4 separate regions of the Homo sapiens genome follow, and regions 2, 3 and 4 are each linked to region 1. Evidence: promoter capture Hi-C in human tissues and cell types (Jung and others, 2019). All regions are on one chromosome and are shown on one strand. The core of a region is centred on a gene start or on the middle of the fragment in contact, and the rest is flanking DNA. Distances in the headings are between cores, read along the strand shown.

Region 1 (2,700 bases), core at 198-2,697:
GGTGGGGTGTGCCCAAGAACCATCCTCTTCTGAGACTGGCACCGCAAGGATCCCAAGTCTCCACTGACATGTGTCACTTTGCCCTCTACTCGCACCCCATTGCTGTCAGAGGCACAGATGGCTTTCCTGTTCCCAGCGCCTCCCAGCTTTCCATCTGATTCAGCTTGGCTGAGCTACAATTCAGTTTCTGTGGACCCCAAGTTCTGCCTCACCTAAGAAACCTTTTAAATCCATCCTTCCTTTCTCCCTCCCAGAGATCCTGTTTCCCACCTTTCTGCTCCTCCCTTCATCCTCCCCAAATCTAACCAAAAACAACATTACCAGCCCCCGCCAGCATGCACTGAGAGCGAACTTTGTTAGCTCTCCTCCCCCAGGAACCGTGCCCAGGGGTGGAAAGCGCTGCCATCCTATCCTTACAAGGACTCCACGAGGGAGGCACAAATAAGGCGCTGGGACTCAGTTTGTTGAGTGACTCGCTAGGGCTGGGTGTGGTGGCTCACGCCTGTAATCCCAGCACTTTGGGAGGCTGAGGCAGGTGGATCACCTGAGGTCAGGAGTTTGAGACCAGCCTGGCTAACATGGTGGAACCCCGTCCCTACCAAAAAATACAGAAATTAGCCAGGTGTGGTGGTGGGCACTTATAATCCCAGCTACTCGGGAGGTTGAGGTAGGAGAATCGCTTGAACCCAGGAGGCAGAAGTTGCAGTGAGCCCAGACTGCACCACTGCCCTCCAACCTGGGCGACAGAGTGAGACCTTGTCTCAAAAAAAAGATAAAAAAGTGACTTGTCGGAAGTCACACGATAAGGAGGTGGGCCGAGGATCGGAACCCAGCCCTGCCCTGCTGGAAACTCTTCAAGGCCTGAACAGTCCTCGGTACCACATTCCTTTCCCCAGCTTCAAGGCCCTCCTGGAACTGTCCCCCAGCCTGCCGCGTGACCTTGGGCAGATGATGTGACCTGACCTCCGTCTTCTCACCTATGAAGTGGGTTGGGGGCGGTTGGTCTTGGGAATTAGGGGAGCCCGTACATGCCAAGGGCACCCCAGAGCCCGGCACTTAGCCGGCGCTCATAAGAGCTCATCCCACGACCTGTGAACCCCCTAACAGGCCCACTCCTTTGGATCACTGACTGCAGTTCCAGGGACCCAACCCAGCACCTTCCCCACCTTCCCAGTGATCTCCGACCCTAACTAGGCCGGTGGCGCAGAGCGGGCGGCGCATGCGCCCTGAGAGCCGGCTCCCCGCTGCACCTGAAGGACACGGAGGCCGCGGATCCTGAGTGAGCCGAGGGGAAGCCCAGGCGCAGAGCTGGCGGCGCCAACGGGGACACCACACTCGCCCCCGACGCCACGCTGCCCAAGCCCGACTTTCACGGCCAAAACGTGAACACCCACCTTGAAGCGCCGCCGCTACTTGCCTTGCCAAGCAGGCCAGTCAATCGGGAGGCGGAGGCTACACTGTAGGACGCTGCCATTGGGCCAGCGGGTTCCCCCTTTTCTGTATTGATGCTTCATGGTGTGGTCTGATTGGCCAGCAAGGCTGCTGAAAGAGGCGGGATTCAGAAATATCTTTCTTTTGATTGGCTAGGAGAGACCGGCGCTTGAAGTTTGTAGGGGGCCGCCATGTTGGTTTGGGGAGGCCAATAAGTGAAGACCTCCGAGCCGCTGGAGGCGGGACATCCGGGGCGTGGTTTAGAAAGAGTGCTTTCGCCGTGGGTGCAGAGGGTGGGCCCGCCGGGTTGGGTGGGGGGCGTGTGATGACGGTAATGGCGACGAGATGCTCAACTCACGCGGCCTCTTTTAATCCTCACAGCAGCTCTGCGTGGAGAAACTACAGTAACGTGTTACCACGTTAAGGCGGGAAGCTGAGGCATGGGAGTATTTAGTAACGTTCCCGGGCCGTAGAGCTGCGGTGTGCGGCCGCCTGATCCACCTGATCTGTATGACTCCCGTACTCAACCAGCCTATGTTTCCTACCAGCGAATTTTTTTTTTTTTTTTTTTTTTTTTCTTTTTTTGAGACAATCTGGCTCTGTGGCTCAGGCTGGAATGCAGTGGTGCGATCTCGGCTCACTGCAGCCTCGACCTCCCAGGCTCGGGTGATCCTCACTTCTCAGCCTCCCGAGCAGCTGGAACCACAGTCGCCTGCCACCACCAGGCTCGGCTAATTTTTGTATTTTTTGTAGAGACGGGGTCTCGCCATGTTGCCCAGGCTGGTCTGGAACTCCTGGACTCAGGCGATCCTCCTGCCTCGGCCTGCCAAAGTGCTGGGATTACAGGCGTGAGCCACCACGCCGGGCCTTTCCCCGGGAATGCTGTGGTAGAGGGACCCGCAGAGGCCCCGAGGCTGCCTGCATGTGTGTGTTGGGAGGATCTGCGCTGAGGGTAGGTAGGAGTTGGGCAGGCCAGGACAGGAAGGAGGCAGAGGGCATGTCCCATGCCCGTGCAGAGGGAGGACACGCATGGTAGACCAGGACGAGGACAAGGGCAGGCTCAGTGTGTGCAAAGGGGACAGTGGTTTGGGATTTGCATGCAGATGCCCGAGCCTCCAAAGGACCTGTGGGCCACAGGGAGACCCTGGGGGAGTTCAAGCTGAGGAGTGGAGAGGGCTTTGGGCTGGTCAGCAGGTGCTCAGAGGAGAGGGGCTGGCCCTAGAGAGAAGGGAGGTCTTGGGATGGTGGCCCACACCTGACCCTGGCCCT
Region 2 (2,700 bases), core at 99-2,598, 320 kb before region 1:
CCCGGAGGTCAGCTGGCTCCCCGGCAGCTGCAGGGGTGGCTAGCCCACTCGGAGGGCAGCGAGGGCATACGAGGGGCTCCAGGGATGAGTGGTTGCCCAGCACAGCACCCCTGGGAGGCCGGGGGCACTTCTCAGGTAGTGGGGGCACGAGGCTGCTCTGGCCTGACCTCAGGGACTCAAAATACTTTGGCGATAAATTCCACCGTGTCCCACCCCTGCTGGTACCCCATACTTACACACAGACTGGTTCAGATGCAGACACTCTCGCGCACATACTCGCTCACACGGGCACATACACGTGCACACACAGTCACATGCGCACACTCATACACACACAAATATCCACTCACACGCATGCATGCACACACACGGACACACACAGGCTCACACGTATGCACGCATATGCGTGCACACGCACACACACACACACACGCTCACATCCTCCCACTCCCACACTCAGTTGCTCAGACACACACACGCCTGGCTCTCACACAAACCTGTTGGGCTCTGAAAGGCTCCAGCCCTTCCCATGCTCGTCAGAAGCCAGTCAATGGCTTCCTAAGTCACCACACAGATCAAAGAGGTGAACTTGGCCACATGGCACTCTGCTTCCTGAGCTCCCAAACACCAGCCTTGGTGAGGACAGACCCTCACCCCACACCCTCATTCCCACTACCCTGGGCAGGCCCAGAGGAGGGGCATCTGCAGGATCTGGCAACCAGCCCCTCCCGCCCGGCTCCTGCAGCCGGCACCATGGGAGTCAGGGGGAGGTCACTGCAAAGGGCAACAGCAAGTTGGTGGCCCCAGGACTAGAGCCCAGGGGTCTTCAGTCCTACTCCAGAGCTTGGACACTGTCCCACAGGGCATGGCCAAGGGAAGGGCTTCCAGAGCCCTGACTTCAGGGAGGAGGGCAGGCGGGCTCCTGTGGCAGGCCTGGATGCATGGCCGCCCACTCCTGGGACTTTCTAACCTAGAAGATCTAGGTCAGGCTGGGTGCAGTGGCTCACGCCTGCAATCCCAACACTTTGGGAGGCCGAGGAGGGTGGATCACTTGAGGTTAGGAGTTTGAGACCAGCCTGGCCAACATGGCGAAACCCTGTGTCTACTAAAAATACAAAACCTAGCCAGGTGTGGTAGTGCACGCCTGTAATCACAGCTACTCAGGAGGCTGAGGCAGGAGAATCACTTGAACTCGGGAGGTGGAGGTTGCAGTGAGCTGAGATCGTGCCATTGCGCAAAGAAGATCTAGGCCGGCCCCTCAACCGGTGAGGTCCAGGCTGGGAGTGCTGAGAGACTGTGGTGACACTGAATGAACTAACAGGCAAAGGGCTTCCAACTGAGCCTGGGGGTGGTGGGAAATGGCTCTTGTGTTCTAGTCAAGACCTCTGCCAACCAGTTCTGACACTGACCCAGCACAGAACCTGACAGGTCAGCAAGGGCCAGGGCTTAGCACAGCCCAGGTAAGGGTGTGTGTACGGCCCCCAGAGTCACTCCCAGGCTGCAAGAAAAGGGACAAAGGAGGGACAAGGGGTGGCCAAGCAAACTGTTCCCTCTGCTCGGGAGTCTGGGGTGACCTGGCCTAGCTGGCCAGTGGAGCTGGGCCACCTCCCCTTAAACTCTCCACCCCGGACTTCGACTCCAAAGCTTTCCTGCCACCCACGCTCTCCCCACCTGGGATCACGGCCAGGCCCTGAGCCTTCAAGGGCCCAGGTGAACTCAGCCAGACTAGGAGCTGAGGAGGACACAGGGCAGCTTCCAGAACGGACCCGAGAACCACTCCCAGCAGGTTCTGCTTCCAGACAAGGAGCTGCACTTTTTCAGCCAATGCAATTAGAAAGCCAGGAGAAGGTGCAAATTCCACCTGCCTGAGCGTCCGCACTTCCCAGGCCGCCCACCATACACACAGCAAAGATGTGTTTAACCATTCAAACCCATGGCCAACCACATCGGTTGCCTCAGACATGCAAGTTTTAAAAAGGAACATAACTATGGGCCAGGCACGGTGGTTCACGTCTGTAATCCCAGCACTTTGGGAGGCCGAGGTGGGTGGATCACCTGAGGTCAGGAGTTCGAGACCAGCCTAGACACCATGGTGAAACCCCATCTGTACCAAAACTACAAAAATTAGCTGGGCGTGGTGGTGGGCGCCTGTAATCCCAGCTACTTGGGAAGCTGAGGCAGGAGAATCACTTGAACCCGGGAGGCGAAGGTTGCAGTGAGCCGAGATTGTGCCACTGCACTCCAGCCTGGGCAACAAGGGAGACTCCATCTCAATTAAAAAAAAAAAAAAAAAAAAGGAACATAACTATGGAATCTCAAGGGGAAGTAATTCCTTCAACAATAACAAATCTTGAAAGCTGAGCTCTTTTTTTTTTTTGAGACAGGATCTCCTCACTTTGTCGCCCAGGCTGGAGTGCAGTGGTGGGATCACAGCTCACTGCAGCCTCGATCTCCCAGGCTCAAATGATCCTCCTACCTCAGCCTCCCAAGAAGCTGGGATTACAGGTGCATACCATCACACCCGATTCATTTTTGTATACTTTGTAGAAATGGGGTCTCACCATGTTGCCCAGTGTGGTCTTGAATTCCTGGACTCAGGTGATCTGCCCGCCTTGGCCTCCCAGAGTGCTGGGATTACAGGCCTGAGCCAACACCCCCACGGGTTCATTTTCAGAGTCGCACCGAGTGCTGGGGTTACAG
Region 3 (2,700 bases), core at 56-2,555, 290 kb before region 1:
GGTCTGGAATCAGGACCCAGGTGTCTGTGGACACTACACATAAAAGAGCAGCATTTACAATGAATGGATAGGATGGACCATCCCACCAAGGTGTTGGACAACTCCCTATTCACTGGCCAGACCCCTACCTCATACCATATACAAAAAAAAAAAAAAAAAAAAAACCCAGACAGAATAATGTCTGAATGTAAAACATAAAACAGTAACAGTCCTGGAAGAAAATAATGGAGGATATATTTATAATCTGGAGATGGAGTAACAAGGGATAGGAAAAAAGCCATAGGGAAAAAGTAGAGTTATGATTATATGAAGCTTCTTAATATCTTTATGATAATGTACCACCAGAAACAAGGATGAAGGACTAGCTACAGACCAGCAGTGAAACCTGAAACAAACAGAACAAAGAATTAAAGTCCATACCAAATAAAGACCTCCCACAAATCTATAAGAAAAAGATAAACAGGCTGGCACCGTGGCTTATGTCTGTAATCCCAGCACTTTGGGAGGCGGAGATGGGTAGGTCACTTGAGGTCAGGAGTTCGAGACCAGCCTGGCCAACATGGTGAAACCCTGTCTCTACCAAAAATACAAAAATTAGCCAGGCGTGGTGGCGCATGCCTGTAGTCCCAGCTACTTGGGAGGCTGAGCCAGGAGAACAGCTGGAACCCGGGAGGCAGAGGTTGCAGTGAACCAAGATGGCAATCGCGCCACTGCACTCCAGCCTGGAGGACACAGCGAGACTCTGTCTCAAAAAAAAAAAAAAAAGAAGAAGAAGAAAAAAGAAAAGAAAAAGACAACAGAAAAATGGGCCAAGGATAAGTGTAGGCAATTTGCAGAAAAGTAAATACCAATAAACCAGAAATGAGGGTTGTGCAAATCAAAAGGTGTTATAATTTTTAACCAAACTGGACCAAAGAAAACACCAAAAACCAAAATCTTGTAATTGCCAGCATCAGAGAGGATATAGGAAAGTGTGTGTTCTCGTAGATGCTTGCAGGTATGAACTGCTACAGCCTTTTAGGAGTTATGTATGTATGTATGCTTGTATGTATGTATTTGAGACAGGGTCTCGCTCTGTTGCCCAGGCTAGATCTGTTGCAGTGCTGTGATCATGGCTTACTGCAGCCTTGACCTCCTGAGCTCAATAGATTTTCCCACCTCAGCCTTTCAAGTAGCTGAGACTACAGGAGTGTGCAATCATACTCAGCTAATTTTTTAAATTTTTTGTAGACATGGGGGGTCTCCCAATTTTGCCCAGGCTGGTCTCGAACTCCTGGACTCAAGTGATCCTCCTGCCTCAACCTCCCAAAGTGCTGGGATTACCTGGATGAGCCACTGTGCCCGGCCTCAATATCTTTAAAAACAGAAATGGACACACTCTTTGACTAGGAATGTATCCTATAAAAACACTTATACACATGCAGAGACACACGAGCAAGCATGCTTTGTAATAGCAATGAAGGCTGGAAAAACTCCTCAATCAGGTAAATGCTGTCAAGTGCACCTGTGTACTATGAAATGGCACTTGGCTTTTAACAAGAGCAAAGACAGAAAAGCAAAAGTACAAAGTAGGGTGTGATGGCACATGCCTGCAGTCCCAGCTACTCAGGAGGCTGAGGCAGGAAGATCCTTTGAGCCCAGGAGTTGGAGGCCAGGAGCTGGGCAATAGTGAGAAAAAATAAAATTAAATAATAATAATAATAAAATAGGCTGGGCACAGCGGCTCATGCCTGTAATCCCAACACTTTGGGAGGCTGAGGTGGGAGGATCGCTTGATCCCAGGAGTTCAAGGCCAGCCTGGGCAGCAAAGCAAGACACCCATCTCAACGACAAATTTTAAAAAATCAGCCAGGCAGGCTGGGCATGGTGGCTCACGCCTGTAATCCCAGCACTTTGGGAGGCCGAGGCAGGCAGATCACTTGAGGTCAGGAGTTCGAGACCAGCCTGGCCAACGTGGCAAAACCCTGTCTCTACTAAAAATACAAAAATTAGCTGGGCATGGTGGCAGATGCCTGTAGTCCCAGCTACTGAGGCACAAGAATCGCTTGAACCAGGGTGGCAGAAGTTACAGTGAGCCGAGATCGTGCCACCGCACTCCATCCTGGGCGTGAGTGAGACTCCTGTCTCAAAAAAAAAAAAAAAAAAAAAAACAAGGAGCCAGGCACGGTGGGGTGAGGGAGGGCACAGAAGCAGCGCCTCTTCTGGGGGCACCCCCAATCTCTAGCGATCCAGAGGCCTCAGGATCCTGAAGGGAGAAAAAACGTGAAGCTCCGTGCTAGAAGAGACCATAGAGATTGGAATCAGCTGGTTCTATTTTACAAAAAAAGGAAACTGAGGCCCTCAGAAGGTGAGTGCCTCTCAATGCCCCACAGGGAGGCAGGGAGAGGGCTCTGAGCCCTGCAGGGCCCTGGATTCTTGCAATGGGGTGGAGTGGAGCCTGTGCCGCCCCCACCAGGCACCTTCTCAGGAGAGGAGCCGTTGTCATATCCTTGAAGGGGTCCTTGAGCCCCTCAAAAGGCTAAAAACCACTTTCCTCCTTGAGTGAACCTTCACCTCAGTTTAACCACAAGAAAAACTACATTAAGGCCCAGCGCAGTGGCTCATGTCTGTAATCCCAGCACTTTGGGAGGCTGAGGTGGGTGGATCGCTTGAGCCCAGGAGTTCAAGACCAGCCTGGGCAACATAGTGAAACCCTGTCTC
Region 4 (2,700 bases), core at 92-2,591, 440 kb after region 1:
TTTAGCTGTAGCATTAATAATACACTAATGTAAAGGTAGAATTTAGTTTTCTCTTTTAAACGAGATTTTCATGTAGTAGTAATAAGAGATTGTAAAAGATTTTTGTTTGCCTTTTGAGCAAACTGCAAAGTGAAAAAAATAAAAAAAGAGGAGCGAGTTTGCCTTATGCTTCCTTCATTAGGTCTTTGGATTGTTTAGAAAACTGAGTCTCCTCTCTATCAAACAATAAAGGTTTTTGCTTTCGGAAATCTTTTTTTTTTTTAGATGGAGTTTCGCTCTTTTTGCCCAGGCTACAGTGCAATGGTGCGAACTTGGCTCAATGCAACCTTCCCCCCACCCCCCGTGTTCAAGCGATTCTCCTGCCTTAGCCTCTTGAGTAGCGGGGATTACAGGCACCTGCCACCATGCCCAACTAATTTTGTATTTTTAGGGGAGACAGGGTTTCACCATGTTGGCCAGACTGGTCTCGAACTCCTGACTTCAGGTGATCCTCCCACCTTGGCTTCCCAAAGTGCTGGGATTACAGATGTGAGTCACCACACCCAGCTTTTCTGAAATCTTTCAGTTATCACTTTGGCTAAATGAATGACTATTATTTTGAAGTTCCCCATGATTCTATTTTGAACAAGTCTTTTAAACCTTTTCTATTTTAATATCAAGTGTTTTAAAGCTTTGGTATTTGACAAACTTCCAAAAATGAAAATTCAAATTCTAAATTAAGCCATTTTGACCTCAAACTAACGTTTCAACATTTGAAAAAGAAAAAAAAAACCCATGTAAGTTCAAGAGAACTTGGTATTATTTGGCATGTAAAAATTACACAGCAAGCATTGTCAAAAAAGAAATGACATTTAACTTTCTTTGAGTTATATTTGTGAAATGTGTTATTAATATGTGTTCCAAAATTATATGAGATTCCTAAAAATCTGATATGTGTTGGTATATATTATCAGTCATTATTGTAAGTATTGTGTTGAATTATAGTGATACGGAAGGGGGGCAGGGAAGTGCTGGGTAGAGGAATGTGTAGTCCCTGGCTAGGGCTCCACCCCCAGGCCTGTGCCCATGGACCTGGGTGAAGACAGGCATTTTTGTTTTCCTGCCCAAATATTGCATTTCCAAAGAGCACCCTGGCCCACCACACCCATATCCTGTGCCTATAAAAACCCTGAGACCCTAGCAAGCAGACACACAAGCAGCTGGACGTGGAGAGGAACACATTGGCAGAAGAAGACACAAGTGGCTGGACGTTGAGAGGTCATTGAGGGGTGCCAGCTCTGTCCCACAGACCCTGGCCAACAGAGGAAATGAGTACCCAGACACAGGTATGCAGTGTTAAGAGCAGCTAGGTGACTGCCTGGCTCTAGTGGAAGAAGCTGGAGCTGCTTTGCTTTTATTCAGTGCAGGCACAATGTCGAAAACCTGGAGCCGACACAATCTGTAAGTCATTAATATTTATTATTCCCCTTTCAGGGAACCTCATGTTCCCTGAAACATGATCATAGGTGATCATAGATGATCTAAGGTCAGTTCCTGGTCGACATAAGTAAACATGCCTATTTAAGATAAAATCCCCCATACTCCCTTGTACCTACTCCTTGCCCTCTGCCTCAGGGTTATAGAAGAGCTGCCTTCAGTTCTTCTCCCCCAGGGCTCTGCAGAACCTTCCCACCTTTCAGAAGGTTTGCGTCCTTTCCCTATAGTTCTTCCCACCTCTCTGACCAATCTGCCACAGAAGGGAGCAGGCTGGTGGAAGAGCACACGACAGACGCCAGCATGCCGGCAGGCCATCCACCTGCAGAACGAGGCGGAGTTTGGCCGGGCAGTCAAAGGCAAGCCCAGGCCGCTGAGCAGCCTGACTCCAGGGCAAAACCTTCCCACTCCATGCCCTTCTGGCTTCCTCCAACTGCTGAGAGTTACCTCCACTCAATAAAACCTTGCACTCATTCTCCAAGCCCAGGTGTGATCCTATTCTTCCAGTACACCAAGGCAAGAACCTGGGATACAGAAATCCCTCTGTCCTTGTAACAAAGCAGAGGGTCTAATTGAGCTGCTGGTTAACACAAGCTGCCTATAGATGGCAAAACTAAAAGAGCACCCTGTAACACATGCCCACTAGGGCTTCAGGAGCTGTAAACATCCACCCCTAGATGCTGCCGTGGGTTGGAGCCCCACAACCTGCCCATCTGTATGCTCCCCTGCAGGTCTGAGCAGCGGGGCACTGAAGAAGCGAGCCACTCCCCCATCACATGCCCTGCAAGGGGGACAAGGGAACCCTTCCCGTTTCAGTAGGCCACAAAAAAATAAAATGACCAAATTTCTTTGTTGATTGCATCTTTGACCATGACTACTTTAAATCTTGCCCTATTCCTTCTTGGAGAGCTCCCTCCAATCTTCATGGAAACTAATGAACCCATTTCACTGGTCAAATAATTCAGTTTATTTGTAACGTATGGCTGATTTTTCAACATTTCCATTGTCCATACCACCCTCAGTCTTCCAGACTTGTGAAATGCACAAATAATAAAAATCAAATTGGCAAAGCTTATAGAAACTTTTTTTTTTTTTGAGACAGTCTCCCTCTTGTCGCTCAGGCTAGAGGGCAGTGGCGCGATCTCAGCTCACTGCAACCTCCGCCTCCCAGGTTCAAGCAATTCTCCTGCCTCAGCCTCCTGAGTAGCTGGGATTACAGGCACCCAC

What was found. Contacts are between HindIII fragments. The study calls those that stand out against the background at their distance.
Region 2: a contact is called between a fragment that was not itself captured here and the fragment with the promoter of NDUFS8 in region 1, in 1 of the 25 tissues and cell types used here (heart right ventricle).
Region 3: a fragment that was not itself captured here is called in contact with the fragment with the promoter of NDUFS8 in region 1 in 2 of the 25 tissues and cell types used here (bladder and dorsolateral prefrontal cortex).
Region 4: a contact is called between a fragment that was not itself captured here and the fragment with the promoter of NDUFS8 in region 1, in 1 of the 25 tissues and cell types used here (dorsolateral prefrontal cortex).

Annotation. Positions count from the first base shown.
Region 1 is chr11:68,029,428-68,032,127 of GRCh38, reverse strand. It overlaps NDUFS8 (NADH:ubiquinone oxidoreductase core subunit S8), which reads right to left and starts at 1,447. Exons shown (of 7, transcript NM_002496.4): 1 at 1,395-1,447. It overlaps GLTC1 (glycolysis associated regulator of LDHA post-transcriptional modification 1), which reads left to right and starts at 1,694. Exons shown (of 4, transcript NR_197583.1): 1 at 1,694-1,835. RefSeq lists enhancers at 1,241-1,420, 1,412-1,706. The HindIII fragment of the contact is 8,880 bases long and covers 1-2,700 here.
Region 2 is chr11:68,348,624-68,351,323 of GRCh38, reverse strand. All of the region lies in intron 2 of LRP5 (LDL receptor related protein 5), which reads right to left. Among named protein-coding and RNA genes, the nearest start is that of LRP5, 37 kb to the right of the region's middle. The HindIII fragment of the contact is 8,182 bases long and covers 1-2,700 here.
Region 3 is chr11:68,318,523-68,321,222 of GRCh38, reverse strand. The region is part of intron 1 of LRP5 (LDL receptor related protein 5); the gene reads right to left. LOC124900302 (a long non-coding RNA gene) reads right to left here. Exons shown (of 2, transcript XR_007062749.1): 1 at 1-2,700. Among named protein-coding and RNA genes, the nearest start is that of LRP5, 7.3 kb to the right of the region's middle. The HindIII fragment of the contact is 3,073 bases long and covers 1-2,700 here.
Region 4 is chr11:67,592,543-67,595,242 of GRCh38, reverse strand. No RefSeq gene overlaps it. Among named protein-coding and RNA genes, the nearest start is that of GSTP1, 10 kb to the right of the region's middle. The HindIII fragment of the contact is 3,217 bases long and covers 1-2,700 here.